Linked DNA regions of Homo sapiens: all the other regions are linked to region 4. The links are contacts of gene promoters, found by promoter capture Hi-C in blood cells and fetal thymus (Javierre and others, 2016). All regions are on one chromosome and are shown on one strand. Each heading gives the region's core, a stretch centred on a gene start or on the middle of the fragment in contact. The rest is flanking DNA. Distances are from core to core; before and after follow the strand shown.

Region 1 (3,576 bases), core at 567-3,066, 180 kb after region 4:
ACAACAAAATGAAGAACTCATCTCCTGGGGCCCTGAGATGTTTTCAGGCAGTAAGCAGAACCCGAAAGCCTGGGCCCAGTGCCCTGGAATCTGAAACTCCAGGCTTGTTTGGCATGAAAAATTCATGAGCCCAAAAGCTTACTTGGGGTCAGAGAACAGAGCAGCTCTGTGTGCTGGCTCTGCCTGCCCCGCCTGCCCCACCTCAGTGGCGGCCTCCCCCATCCCCCTGAGGCTGTGGCCTTGTCCTAGTTCCTTCTGGATGCCTGGAGCCTCCTCCAGCCTCTCCCAGGGACCACGCCTCTAGGCCCTGTCCACAATCCCTTCTCCACACCACTAAAGAGATCTCTCTGAAACTCACAATTATTTTTTGACTCTCACTCTCACATCCTCTATGGCCCCCCATTGCCCTCCAACCACCCCCACCTGGCACAGTCAGACACCTGCTGACCTCTGCCACAGGACACCACCTGAACCTGCTGTCCCAGACACCCTAACTGCCCGAATTTCAGTTCCTCTCCTGCTGTCTCAAGCCATCCTCCCACCTCAGCCTCCCAAGTAGCTGAGACTATAGACACGTGCCACCACAGCTGGCCACCTTAGCCATTTTGAAGTGCACAGTTCGGTGGCATTAAGCACATTAATGGCCATGCAACCGTCACCACCATCCATCTCCAGAACTTTCTCATCTTCCCAAAGGAAAACTTCTCCCTATGAAACACTCCTTCTCCCTCTCCCAACCCCTGGCACCCACTCTTCTTCTTCTTCTTCTTCTCCTTTTCCTTCTCCTCCTCCTCCTTCTTCTTCTTCTTTTCTTTTTTTTATTTATTTTGAGATGGAGTCTCACCGTCACCGAGGCTTGAGTGCAGTGGCACAATCTCGGCTCACTGCAGCCTCCATCTCCTAGGTTCAAGCAGTTCTCCTGCCTCAGCCTCCTGAGTAGCTGGGATTACAGGCGCCCCCCACCACGCCCAGCTAATTTTATTTTTTTATATTTTATTTATTCATTTACTTTTATTATTTTATTATTATTTTTTTTTGAGACAGAGTCTCGCTCTGTTGCCCAGGCTGGAGTGCAGTGGCACGATCTCAGCTCCCTGCAAGCTCTGCCTCCCGGGTTCATGCCATTCTCCTGCCTCAGCCTCCCGAGTAGCTGGGACTACAGGTGCCTGCCACCACACCCGGCTAATTTTTGTATTTTTAGTAGAGGCAGGGTTTCGCCATATTGGCCAGGCTGGTCTCTTGGCCAAGCTGGTCTGGAACTCCTGACCTGGAGATGTGCCTGCCTCAGCCTCCCAAAGTGCTGGGATTATAGGCGTGAGCCGCCGCGCCCAGCTTTTTTTTCTTTTTTTTTTGAGACGGATTCTCACTTTGTCGCCCAGGGGCTGGAGTGCAGTGGCGCAATCTCAGCTAATTGCAACCTCCTCCTTCTCCTAGTTCAAGTGATTCTCCTGCCTCAGCCTCCCAAGTAGCTGGGATTACAGGCATCTGCCACCACGCTGGGCTAATTTTTGTATTTTTGGTAGAGACTGGGTTTCGCCATGTTGACTAGGCTGGTCTCAAACTCCTGACCTCAAGTGATCCACCCATCTCAGCCTCCCAATGTGCTGGGATTACAAGTGTAAGCCACCATGCCCAGCTACTCAGGAGTCTGAGGTGGGAGGATCACTGGAGCCCAGAAGATTGAGGCTGCAGTGAGCTATGGTTGCACCACTGCACTCCAGCCTCGGTGACAAAGCAAGAACCTATCTTAAGAAAATACTGTGCTGAGCCAGTTCCTGAGAAAACAAAATAGAAAACAAAACTAAAGAAAAGGCAAAAGTTCCTCCCAGCAGAGATGTGAGAGAAAAAGAAAAAAAAAGTCCCCTGTGACACCCCCATACCCCAATCTTCGTCCCTCTCATAACCACTGGCTGATTCAGATCTTTTTCAGCTGGGTTACATGCAGGGGGGTGTGTGTGTGTGTTTGTGTGTGTGTGTGTGTGTGTGTGTGTGTGTGCGCGTGTTGCCCTCTTTCTCTCTCTTTCTCCCATACCATATAAGACTATACAACTTGTGGATGGGCACAGTGGCTCTCACCTGTAATCCCAGAACTTTGGGAGGCAGAGGCGGGTGGGGCACTTGAGGCCAAGAGTTCAAGAGCAGCCTGGGCAACATGGCAAAAAATCTGTCTCTACTAAAAATATAAAAACTGGCCAGGTGTGGTGGCTCACGCCTGTAATCCCTGCACTTTGGAGGCTAAGGCAGGTGAATCACCTGAGGTCAGGAGTTTGAGACAAGCCTGGCCAACATGATAAAATCCTGTCTCTACTAAAAATACAAAAAATTAGCCAGGTATGCTGGCGGACACCTGTAATCCCAGCTACTCGGGAGGCTGAGGCAGGAGAATTGCTTGAACCCAGGAGGCAGAGGTTGCAGTGAGCCGAGATCATGCCACTGCACTCGAGCCTGGGTGACAGAACAAGAATCTGTCTCAAAAACAAAACAAAACAAAACAAACAAGCAACAACAACTATATATATATATATATATATGTATATAGACTAAGCTGGGCATGGTGGTGCGTACCTGAAATCCCAGCTACTCCAGAGGCTGAGGCACACAAATCACTTGAACCCAAGAGAAGGAGGTTTCAGTGAGCTGAGCTCGCACCACTGCACTCCAGCCTGGGCGACAGAGAGAGACTCTGTCTTAAATAAAAAAAAAAAAATACAACTTGCTATTATCACTCAACAATATGACCTGGACGCTACTCCGGAAAGCATGTGGTTGAAGGGGAAGGAAGTGTGTCTTGGGTGTAAAGTCGGACTCCCTGGGTTCAGATCCTTGCAGAGCCACGGGCTCATTATGTTACTGTGGGTAAATTACTTCACCTCTCTGGGTCACTTTCCCCAATTGGAAAATGATTATAATGATTTAATACAGAGTGCTTGGGCCAGACGCGGTGTCTCACGCCTGTAATCCCAGCACTTTGGGAGGCCGAGGCGGTGGATCATGAGGTCAGGAGATTGACACCATCATGGCTAAGACAGTGAAACCCGTTCTTCACTAAAAATACAAAAAACTAGCTGAGCGTGGTGGTGGGTGCTGTAATCCCAGCTACTCAGAAGGCTGAGGCAGGAGAATTGCTTGAACCCGGGAGGCAGATGGTGCAGTGAGCTGAGATCACGCCACTGCACTCCAGCTTGGCGACAGAGTGAGACTCCATCTCAAAAACTAAAACAAACAACAACAACTATATACACACACACACACACACATACACACACAGAGAGCACTTTACTGGGTGAGCCAAGATCGCGCCACTGCCCTCCAGCAGCCTTGGTTCAAAAAAAAAAGGTGCTTGGCCAGCATGGTGGCTCATGCTTGTAATCCCAGCACTTCAAGAGGCCAAGATGGGCAGATCGATTGAGGCTAATGAGACCTGGTCTCTATTTCAAAAAAAAGAAAAAGAGTTAAAAAAATATATAAAGCATTTAATACCTTGTCTGACACTGACTAAGCTTTCTATAAACATTCACTCTTTCTTTCCTTTTTTTTTTTTTTGAGACCGAGTCTCGTTCTGTCACCCAGGCTGGT
Region 2 (3,347 bases), core at 591-3,090, 150 kb after region 4:
GAGACCCCTGGCGTCCCTGCGATGGAGATCAGATTCAGCTGCCAGAAAGCTGACCACAGCAGTGTGACCCTCTTGAACTGCCAGATGGATTGGAAGTGCCCCGGTGCCATCAGGCACGTTGACATCAGCCCCGTGCTCCACTAGGACCTTCAGGGTGTCCAGGAATCCAGTGCGGGCTGCGTCATGGACTGGACTGGTACCGGAGGTGTCCTGGACATTGGGGCTGGCACCTTGCTTCAGCAGCTCCAGGGCGATGGCGGTGCTGCCAAACATCATGACCTGTGTGAGGGACAGAGGATCAGGAGGTCCTCAAGGGAGGAGGTTCCACAAAAGGGGTCACTGGAAAGAGAAGGGTCATCCAGAAAGAGGCATCTCCCAGAAACAGGAAATGCTAGAGGAGGGGTCCTCTAGTGAACGGAGAAGCTGCATAAGCCCCCAGGAAAGTTCTTCTGGGAATAGGGACCCCCCCCAAAAGCTGGTCACTCCCTTAAGAATGAGACCCCCCAACCCAGAGAACAGCCCCCCATGGAAACTTTCAAGGAACCTAAGACTCTCCCCCAAGGGACCAAAGACGCCCCCAGATATGGGCAATCACCAGGAAACAGAAAATCCCCTCCAGGAAATGGGCCCCCAGAGATGGAGAACTACCCCCAAAGAATTGATAGTCCTCATAAGGGAAAAAAGATGTCAAAGGAAAGCGAACCCCTTCTCCAGGAAATAGCCTCCTCCTACATAATGGTGATGTCACCTCAGAGTACCTGAGAGCTCCTTTCAAGAAGCGGGATTCCAAAAGTAATAATAAAAGAGAAACGAGACTTCCCTGTAAAATGTCTCCCAGGGAATATAGGGATGTCTTGCAATCTGACATTGTTCCTCCATTGGGGCCCCCATACTATATCAAGGATCCGCATAACCTTTAGGAATGAAGACCCCACCCCCAAGTAACCAGATTTGTCTCAGAGAGCCCCCTACAAAATGAGGAACCCCTAGAGACAGGACCTCTCCTTCCAGAGATCGGATCTCCCCATAGAAGCCCCAAGAAACGTGAGCCGTCCCCATGGAAACGGCATCCAAAGGAGCTGAACCCGCACCCACGGAATAAGAACCTCCCCAGGGAAAGTGAATCCCCGGCACTCAGAGAACCAGGAATCCTCCCAGAGAAGATGCTAAAAAGCTCTCCCCTCCCCCCACAACCTAGCCTCACCCACCACCCACCTTCGAAGGGGGACTGTGGGGGAACAATGAAAGCCTAGAGAAGAAGGACCGGTTCCCAGTGGGTCACCACCAGGGCCAGGAGACCAGAGAGGAGCTCTGGGGTCTCGATCCTCATCCCGCTTAGCCGCCCCGCCCCAACCTGGACCGGCCCGGCCTCACCTGCAGCGCCGTCTTGCCGAAGCGGTTGAGGGCGTCGGGATGCACCAGCTCCCGGTGCAGAAGGCGGCGCACCTCCTGCACGTCGCCCCGGGCCGCCGCCCCACTCAGCCGGTCGCCGGCGCGAACCTCCTCCAGCAGCATGTCGACACTGGCGGCCTGCAAAGCCCCCCGCCCCGCCCCAGCCCGGCGCTGTCAGCGCGGAGCAGCCGGCGGGCGCTGGCCCGAACAGCCCTCCCGGGGCGCGGCCGCGGTGCACCCGGCTGCGCTGCTCTCCCGTCCCGGCTCCCCAGCCCGAGACCCCGGCCCTCCCGGCGGGCTCCTCCCCCTGTCAGCCGGAGGACGGCGAGGGGCTGGGAGCCGGGCCCAACCCTCGGCCGCCCGCGGGGCCCTGCCCGGCGCCCGCCCCTTGGGGGCCGGGTCTCCCCCTAACTCACCCTCCCTCCTCCTCGCCGGGCGGGGTCTGCTCTGAGCCTGCGCCGCCGCCGCCGCTGAGGCAGCCGCCAGGGGGCGGAGCCAACGTGCTCCCGGCCACGCCCCGAACGCAACTGATTTGTTTTCTTACAAACTCGCTACTGTGTAGCGGCACCGCGTTGCCCGGCGCGCGACCTTACGGCGTTCCGCCCACAGGGCCTGCATAACCAGTGGCTGCGCGTCGCCGGGGAAACTTCGGGCTCGGCGTGAAACGCGTCGCTCCTGATTGGTCAGAGTGTGGCAACCGGTGGACCGCCGGCAATGGCGGGGTTTTCGGTTTTCAAATGAACCCGGCAGGCGGGAAAGAAGGCTGGTTTAACTGACCCAGGGAGAAAGGTCAGGGGCAGGGTCGCGCGGGCTGCTCTGGGACCTCGGCGCCTCCTGAGGGAAGGGAGGCAGGGCTGGAGCCACCCAATCCGAGGTTCCACTACTAATAGACATTCATTGGCCCTTACTACGAGCTGGGCGCTTTATTTCATTCATTTATTCATTCACTGTGTGCAGGGAGCGTCCTGGGAGCTGGACGCGCACATTCAAACAACCAAATAATATTAGATAGTGTCAAGCACCGTGAAGAAAGGGAAACGGAGAGACGGAGTGGATGAGGAAGGGATCACCCTGCCGGGCTCAGACTGAGCCAGCAGGAAAGGAGCCTGCAGCTGCCACGTGGGAAGGCCTGAGAGGACATAGTCGCAGCCAGACAGGGACTCAGAGGTCTTCGTTCAAATATTTACTTAGCACCTCCTAGAGGGGCCCGAGTGGAGAGCACGCCAGTCGGCCCCTGCTGCAGGGACACCTATGGTCTGGGGCCAGAGACAATAGTTAATTTTTATTTATATATGTATTTATTTTTGAGTCAGGGTCTCACTCCTGTCACCCGGGCCGGCGTGCAGTGGCGCGATCACAGCTCACTGCAGCCTCGACTTCCCGGGCTCAAGTGATCCTCCTGCCTCAGCCTCCCGAGTAGCTGGGACTACAGGGCGCACCACCACGCCCGGCTAATTTGTGTTTTTAGTAGATATGAGGTTTCACTATGTTGCCCAGGCTGGTGTTTTTTGTTTGTTATTTGTGTTTGGCTTTTAAATACAGATTTTTTTTTTTATGTTGGGGTTCTTGCTTTGTTGCCCAGGCTGGTCCCGAATTCCTGGGCTCAACGGATCCTTCTGCCTTGGCCTCCAAAAGTGCTGGGATTACAGGCGTGAGCTCCTGCTCTCCGCCAATAGTTAAATCTTTTTAGAGTGGTAGAGGACTGACCAGATGAGCCATTGAAACGGAAAGGCAAAAAGCCGGGCGCGGTGGCTCACACCTGTAATCCCAGCACTCTGGGAGGCTGAGGTGGGCGGATCACGAGGTCAGGAGTTCAAGACCAGCCTGACCAACATGGTGAAACCCCGTCTCTACCAAAAATATAAAAAATTAGCCGGGCGAGGTGGCGGGCGCCTGTAGTCCCAGCTACTCGGGAGGCTGAGGCAGGAGAATGGCGTGAACCCCAGGGGGCGGAG
Region 3 (3,731 bases), core at 1,124-3,623, 130 kb before region 4:
TTCTCCTGCTCTGCAACCCTGGAGGTGGCCGGCCAGCTTATACACAAGAACCAGACCCGGGAGCTTCGTGTCCTGTGTGAGTGGGGCTGCTGGTCAATGGCCCCTATCCCCCAAGGCCCAATCTCCCTGAAGGTCCCATAAGGTCTTGCCTCCAAGTCCTGCCCCCACCCACCTCCATGTCATCTCATCGTGTTTTTCCAGATGGCCCCCGACTGGACGAGAGGGATTGTCCGGGAAACTGGACGTGGCCAGAAAATTCCCAGCAGACTCCAATGTGCCAGGCTTGGGGGAACCCATTGCCCGAGCTCAAGTGTCTAAAGGATGGCACTTTCCCACTGCCCATCGGGGAATCAGTGACTGTCACTCGAGATCTTGAGGGCACCTACCTCTGTCGGGCCAGGAGCACTCAAGGGGAGGTCACCCGCAAGGTGACCGTGAATGTGCTCTGTGAGTGAGCCGGCGGGCAGAGCTGGGTGGGGGCAGGGGCCATGGACCTAATGCAATCCTCACCGCCTGTTGTATCCTCCCCACAGCCCCCCGGTATGAGATTGTCATCATCACTGTGGTAGCAGCCGCAGTCATAATGGGCACTGCAGGCCTCAGCACGTACCTCTATAACCGCCAGCGGAAGATCAAGAAATACAGACTACAACAGGCCCAAAAAGGGACCCCCATGAAACCGAACACACAAGCCACGCCTCCCTGAACCTATCCCGGGACAGGGCCTCTTCCTCGGCCTTCCCATATTGGTGGCAGTGGTGCCACACTGAACAGAGTGGAAGACATATGCCATGCAGCTACACCTACCGGCCCTGGGACGCCGGAGGACAGGGCATTGTCCTCAGTCAGATACAACAGCATTTGGGGCCATGGTACCTGCACACCTAAAACACTAGGCCACGCATCTGATCTGTAGTCACATGACTAAGCCAAGAGGAAGGAGCAAGACTCAAGACATGATTGATGGATGTTAAAGTCTAGCCTGATGAGAGGGGAAGTGGTGGGGGAGACATAGCCCCACCATGAGGACATACAACTGGGAAATACTGAAACTTGCTGCCTATTGGGTATGCTGAGGCCCCACAGACTTACAGAAGAAGTGGCCCTCCATAGACATGTGTAGCATCAAAACACAAAGGCCCACACTTCCTGACGGATGCCAGCTTGGGCACTGCTGTCTACTGACCCCAACCCTTGATGATATGTATTTATTCATTTGTTATTTTACCAGCTATTTATTGAGTGTCTTTTATGTAGGCTAAATGAACATAGGTCTCTGGCCTCACGGAGCTCCCAGTCCTAATCACATTCAAGGTCACCAGGTACAGTTGTACAGGTTGTACACTGCAGGAGAGTGCCTGGCAAAAAGATCAAATGGGGCTGGGACTTCTCATTGGCCAACCTGCCTTTCCCCAGAAGGAGTGATTTTTCTATCGGCACAAAAGCACTATATGGACTGGTAATGGTTACAGGTTCAGAGATTACCCAGTGAGGCCTTATTCCTCCCTTCCCCCCAAAACTGACACCTTTGTTAGCCACCTCCCCACCCACATACATTTCTGCCAGTGTTCACAATGACACTCAGCGGTCATGTCTGGACATGAGTGCCCAGGGAATATGCCCAAGCTATGCCTTGTCCTCTTGTCCTGTTTGCATTTCACTGGGAGCTTGCACTATGCAGCTCCAGTTTCCTGCAGTGATCAGGGTCCTGCAAGCAGTGGGGAAGGGGGCCAAGGTATTGGAGGACTCCCTCCCAGCTTTGGAAGCCTCATCCGCGTGTGTGTGTGTGTGTATGTGTAGACAAGCTCTCGCTCTGTCACCCAGGCTGGAGTGCAGTGGTGCAATCATGGTTCACTGCAGTCTTGACCTTTTGGGCTCAAGTGATCCTCCCACCTCAGCCTCCTGAGTAGCTGGGACCATAGGCTCACAACACCACACCTGGCAAATTTGATTTTTTTTTTTTTTCCAGAGACGGGGTCTCGCAACATTGCCCAGACTTCCTTTGTGTTAGTTAATAAAGCTTTCTCAACTGCCTCAGCCTTGTGTGAGTTGAGGGGAGGTGTCACATCCAGCTGGAGTCCTTTCTAAGCAGCCACAGCCTGATCCTCCCACTTCCTCCCCCAAGAAAACATTGTGGGTTGATGGCCATACCCTGAGGTTCTGGTCCAAATCGGACTTTCTATGACCTTCTGGGTCTCTAGTGAAAACTAAAGACTCCTCTCCAGAAAAAAACATTTGGTTTCTAATGAGGCCTGGAATCTTATTCTTGACCTGGGGAGCGGAATCCCTTTTTGCAGTACTCCCGGGCCCTCTGTTGGGGCCTCCCCTTCCTCTCCAGGGTGGAGTCGAGGAGGCGGGGCTGCGGGCCTCCTTATCTCTAGAGCCGGCCCTGGCTCTCTGGCGCGGGGCCCCTTAGTCCGGGCTTTTTGCCATGGGGTCTCTGTTCCCTCTGTCGCTGCTGTTTTTTTTGGCGGCCGCCTACCCGGGAGTTGGGAGCGCGCTGGGACGCCGGACTAAGCGGGCGCAAAGCCCCAAGGGTAGCCCTCTCGCGCCCTCCGGGACCTCAGTGCCCTTCTGGGTGCGCATGAGCCCGGAGTTCGTGGCTGTGCAGCCGGGGAAGTCAGTGCAGCTCAATTGCAGCAACAGCTGTCCCCAGCCGCAGAATTCCAGCCTCCGCACCCCGCTGCGGCAAGGCAAGACGCTCAGAGGGCCGGGTTGGGTGTCTTACCAGCTGCTCGACGTGAGGGCCTGGAGCTCCCTCGCGCACTGCCTCGTGACCTGCGCAGGAAAAACACGCTGGGCCACCTCCAGGATCACCGCCTACAGTGAGGGACAGGGGCTCGGTCCCGGCTGGGGTGAGGGGAGGGGGCTGGAAGAGGTGGGGGAAGGGTAGTTGACAGTCGCTCTATAGGGAGCGCCCGCGGACCTCACTCAGAGGCTCCCCCTTGCCTTAGAACCGCCCCACAGCGTGATTTTGGAGCCTCCGGTCTTAAAGGGCAGGAAATACACTTTGCGCTGCCACGTGACGCAGGTGTTCCCGGTGGGCTACTTGGTGGTGACCCTGAGGCATGGAAGCCGGGTCATCTATTCCGAAAGCCTGGAGCGCTTCACCGGCCTGGATCTGGCCAACGTGACCTTGACCTACGAGTTTGCTGCTGGACCCCGCGACTTCTGGCAGCCCGTGATCTGCCACGCGCGCCTCAATCTCGACGGCCTGGTGGTCCGCAACAGCTCGGCACCCATTACACTGATGCTCGGTGAGGCACCCCTGTAACCCTGGGGACTAGGAGGAAGGGGGCAGAGAGAGTTATGACCCCGAGAGGGCGCACAGACCAAGCGTGAGCTCCACGCGGGTCGACAGACCTCCCTGTGTTCCGTTCCTAATTCTCGCCTTCTGCTCCCAGCTTGGAGCCCCGCGCCCACAGCTTTGGCCTCCGGTTCCATCGCTGCCCTTGTAGGGATCCTCCTCACTGTGGGCGCTGCGTACCTATGCAAGTGCCTAGCTATGAAGTCCCAGGCGTAAAGGGGGATGTTCTATGCCGGCTGAGCGAGAAAAAGAGGAATATGAAACAATCTGGGGAAATGGCCATACATGGTGGCTGACGCCTGTAATCCCAGCACTTTGGGAGGCCGAGGCAGGAGAATCGCTTGAGCCCAGGAGTTCGAGACCAGCCTGGACAACATAGTGAGACCCCGTCTATGCAAAAAATACACAAATTAGCCTGGTGTGG
Region 4 (3,641 bases), core at 1,112-3,611:
CCGGCTTTCATGTCCCCGCCTGGGAGGATCAGGTTTCTTCTCCGCCTTGAAGGGGATGGTGGAGTCTTGGAAGGGGTCTGGACTAGTATTTTTCTTTCTCCTGGGGAGATGTGAGAAATATCTGCGAGCTCTGGGTTCACACAGCACCTCCTGCTGATTCTCATCTGGGGACCTTCCAGGTACCCAACCAGTTTCCCAGAGTACTCAACCCCCCTCTTGGCTCAAGAATGAGCTGGAAAGTCAGACAGCTGAGCTGGTCCTGGCTTCTGGCCGGCCCCTGCCCCCATGCCCTCCTCTGGTCACCGCTTTCGGCAGTTCCAATCCACCCCCACCCCCATCTACTCAATTGGAGGGTTCCAGGGTCTCTGTTTCCGTCATGGTCCAATGGTTCATTTCCAGATAGGGAGAGCAAGTGACTGTCTCTCGCCCCTGGAGCTGCTTAATTATACCTCTCCACGCCCATCCCACTAGCCTCAGGTCCAGATCAGTTTATCCCCCAGCTCAGGCCACCGCTCCTCGTTTCCTCCTTCTTCTGCAACCCCAGCTGTGTCCTGACACCCCCACCCACCTCACATTACGCACTCCCACCCGCTTCCAGATCTCTAACCAACGTTACAGCATACCCCGCCAAGAATTTGGCCCAGCCCAGGACTCTCAAATATGATCTGGGGAGAACTCACAGCCCCTGCAAATTCCCTAGAAGCCGTTTTGAGTGTGTAATGGGGGGGGTGTTCCTGAGAGAAGTGGGGAACACAGTTTTGGCCCTTGGAATACCCGGCGGCTGCTGATGGGGGGGCCGGTTTTTGCTCGGCGTTCGCCCACGCCGGGAGCCCCCTCTGGCGGGGAGAAAAGTGGCTGTGGGGGTTGAAGACCGGCAGTCTTTTTTTTTTTTTTTTTTTTTTTTCAAATAAGGAGAAGGGCGCGGGGGGAGGGCGGTGGCAAACGGCATCGCGTGCCCTGGGGAGCCCGTGACAGGGGGCGCACGGGGGCAGGGGTCTGGTCCCCGGGTCCCGCAGCAGAGCAGTTTCGCGTTCGAGCTCTTATCGGCGTGGGGGGGGGGGGCGGTGGGACACGCGGGCGCGTGCACTCCCCCCGCCCAGCAGCCATCCTTGGGGGGGTTGAGGGGGATGGGGGCGCACTCGGATCCCGCTCGCTCTCTGCTTGCTCGCTCGGCGCGGCGCTGGGGGAGGCGGGAGCGTGAGTCACGGCGACTCCCGATTTAGGTGCCGGAAGGGGGGCTCTGCTGGCGGGGGCCGCAGGGAGGAGGCTCGCCTGTTTACTCGCCTGAAAAGGGCACGGGGGTGCGCTCCGCGGCTACCTGGGACCTTCCTCAGTTTACCTCTGGCAGAAGCGCTTTAGAAGAGGCAGCGATGTATAGAGCGGTGGGCCGGCAGCTGCGGTATCCGCCACAGGGTGTCTTCCTGGAGCCACAAGGGAACCAATGGGACACACCCCAGAAACACCCCAGAGGCCCCAGGCCGACCACACACATACACTCACGCACACGCACACACTAACATACATAGACGTCCTCCGACACTACAGTCAGACGACAGAGGCCGAATCGCGTGCACAACTCCGCAAGCACACACCGACCACAAACGCATCCAAGCGCTTGAGAACACATTCACAGTCCCCAGGCCACCTGAAAAAAGACCACGTAGGGATGCACATCCTCCAAATAGGTAGCACATGTGCGCACACATCCTTCACCCACAGACACACACAGTTATACACACAGCCAAATCCAGAGAAACGGGCAGACAACAGCAGCCAACCACGTGCGCACACACACTTCCAGCCGACACTGAAAACACAGACAACCCTCGGAAGAGGCCACGTGCGCGCACATCCCGCCCCGGGCCCGCACCATCACTATCCTCCGACGCACAGACAGGAGATCCCACACACTCTGCCGCCGCCCGCTGCAGGTACCGCGCCGGTGGCACTAGGACCACTCCTCAAAAACTGCCCCCCGCCAGGGGTAGCGGCGAGGACACGCCAACACCGGACTCCGCCCTCGCCATGATGGACCGACTGACTGACACTCTGGCAACCAGTCCGGTGTCTGCTTCCAGATCGGATTAACCGTTTAACTCCTTCGTGCCTGTGCGCGCCGCGGCCAAGCAGGGTGCTTTGAAGACAGACGAGTTCCAGCGCCCCCTCCCAGCCCGGAGCGGGGATCTGCGTGGGCGGGAAGGGCCCCCCTCCTTAGGTAGCTGCCCCCCGCTGGCCCGGACGGAGGAGGAGGGGGGCGGCGCTGACAGCCGCGGCGGGCGGGGGGCGGGGAGGGGCGGGACGGGGCGGAGGAGCCGGGGCTGGCGCCGAGCGGGCCGCGGAACGCGGAGCGCGGAGCGCGGAGAGCGCCGCCGGGCACTGAGCAGAGCTCCAGGCGCCGAAAGGAAGCTGCAGAGCCCGGCCCGGGGGCGATTGGCCCGCAGCGCCCCCGGGTCTGTCCCCGGGGCGCCATGGCCCTACCGCGGCCGGGCGCACCCGCGGGGCCCTGGGCTCGCTGGCTTGCGCGCAGCTGAGCGGGGTGTAGGTTGGAAGGGCCAGGGCCCCCTGGGGCGCAAGTGGGGGCCGGCGCCATGGAACCCCCGACCGTCCCCTCGGAAAGGAGCCTGTCTCTGTCACTGCCCGGGCCCCGGGAGGGCCAGGCCACCCTGAAGCCTCCCCCGCAGCACCTGTGGCGGCAGCCTCGGACCCCCATCCGTATCCAGCAGCGCGGCTACTCCGACAGCGCGGAGCGCGCCGAGCGGGAGCGGCAGCCGCACCGGCCCATAGAGCGCGCCGATGCCATGGACACCAGCGACCGGCCCGGCCTGCGCACGACCCGCATGTCCTGGCCCTCGTCCTTCCATGGCACTGGCACCGGCAGCGGCGGCGCGGGCGGAGGCAGCAGCAGGCGGTAAGACTCCCCGCGGCGGATGCGCGCGGAACGGATGGGCGCGCAGGGAGGAGGCAACTCGAGCTGCCGGCCGCAGGGGGCGCTAGGATGCGGGTGGGGTCGGTTTGGCTGGCGGGGGCGGAGGGAATTCGGCTGCGGGGGCGTCTGGGACCTGGCCCCTGGTTGTGCGCTCTACGGGAGGCTTCCTGCTGAAGCCCATCCTGGGGTCCATTTAGGGGGCGCCACGCTGCGCGTGGTGTTAACGAGGTCTGGGTTGGGGAAGGGGGCTGCACACTTAGGGGTCTGTATTCTTGGTGACAGTGCAGAACAGCTGCTAAGCTGGGAACCACTTGGAGGGACCTTCCTGGGGGCACTATACTGAGGGCTAGATTCGCAGTGTTTGGGGTACTCTTGGAGCACTCCATAAGGGGGTGCCTGCTAGGACCAGGATCTTTACTTCAGGGTGGGGTGCTCTCAGGGTCCTTCTAGGGGATGGAGGACTCTATTGCGGGGATGTTAGTGGACTCCTCCTGCAGCAGCTGGGGTCAGAAATCCAGAGGGTGCCTCTTGGGGGAGCACTGTTTTGGGAGCCTTGCGTTAGATTGGAGTTCCCCTCTCAGGGCAAGAGTGTTAGCGTTAAGTAGCTGTTCAGAGGCAGGAAACAGTGGAGGGGGGGCGCAGTCCCAGCACAGAGGGAAGGAGTCCCTGACTGCAGAGGTGACAGCATAGTGAGGGTGCATGTGTGTTGAGCTTG

The links. The method cuts DNA at HindIII sites, captures the fragments that hold promoters and counts their contacts. A CHiCAGO score of 5 or more calls a contact.
Region 1: a contact is called between a fragment that was not itself captured here and the fragment with the promoter of PDE4A in region 4, in 1 of 17 cell types (naive B cells). The highest score is 5.2, in naive B cells.
Region 2: the fragment with the promoter of CDKN2D here is called in contact with the fragment with the promoter of PDE4A in region 4 in 7 of 17 cell types (endothelial precursors, total B cells, total CD8 T cells and 4 more); the score reaches 9.1 in endothelial precursors.
Region 3: the fragment with the promoter of ICAM4 here is called in contact with the fragment with the promoter of PDE4A in region 4 in 9 of 17 cell types (monocytes, total B cells, activated CD4 T cells and 6 more); the score reaches 8.3 in monocytes.

The regions. Positions count from the first base shown.
Region 1 is chr19:10,593,943-10,597,518 of GRCh38, forward strand. No RefSeq gene overlaps it. Among named protein-coding and RNA genes, the nearest start is that of AP1M2, 8.4 kb to the left of the region's middle. RefSeq lists enhancers at 1-226, 1,701-1,890. The HindIII fragment of the contact is 3,363 bases long and covers 136-3,498 here.
Region 2 is chr19:10,567,139-10,570,485 of GRCh38, forward strand. It overlaps CDKN2D (cyclin dependent kinase inhibitor 2D), which reads right to left and starts at 1,841. Exons shown (of 2, transcript NM_001800.4): 1 at 1,375-1,841; 2 at 1-279. The coding sequence starts at 1,515. RefSeq lists enhancers at 61-568, 1,008-1,177 and a silencer at 1,458-2,107. The HindIII fragment of the contact is 9,110 bases long and covers 1-3,347 here.
Region 3 is chr19:10,284,582-10,288,312 of GRCh38, forward strand. It overlaps ICAM4 (intercellular adhesion molecule 4 (Landsteiner-Wiener blood group)), which reads left to right and starts at 2,374. Exons shown (of 3, transcript NM_001544.5): 1 at 2,374-2,825; 2 at 2,955-3,257; 3 at 3,405-3,731. The coding sequence starts at 2,432. The coding sequence ends at 3,523. It overlaps ICAM1 (intercellular adhesion molecule 1), which reads left to right. Exons shown (of 7, transcript NM_000201.3): 5 at 1-76; 6 at 202-447; 7 at 534-2,034. The coding sequence ends at 706. ICAM4-AS1 (ICAM4 antisense RNA 1) reads right to left here. Exons shown (of 1, transcript NR_186335.1): 1 at 1,220-3,731. RefSeq lists enhancers at 1,942-1,991, 2,046-3,015, 2,362-2,501. The HindIII fragment of the contact is 2,558 bases long and covers 2,019-3,731 here.
Region 4 is chr19:10,418,177-10,421,817 of GRCh38, forward strand. PDE4A (phosphodiesterase 4A) reads left to right here and starts at 2,362. Exons shown (of 15, transcript NM_001111307.2): 1 at 2,362-2,908. The coding sequence starts at 2,589. RefSeq lists enhancers at 1-161, 1,155-2,034, 3,215-3,404 and silencers at 2,255-2,724, 2,955-3,004. The HindIII fragment of the contact is 23,098 bases long and covers 1-3,641 here.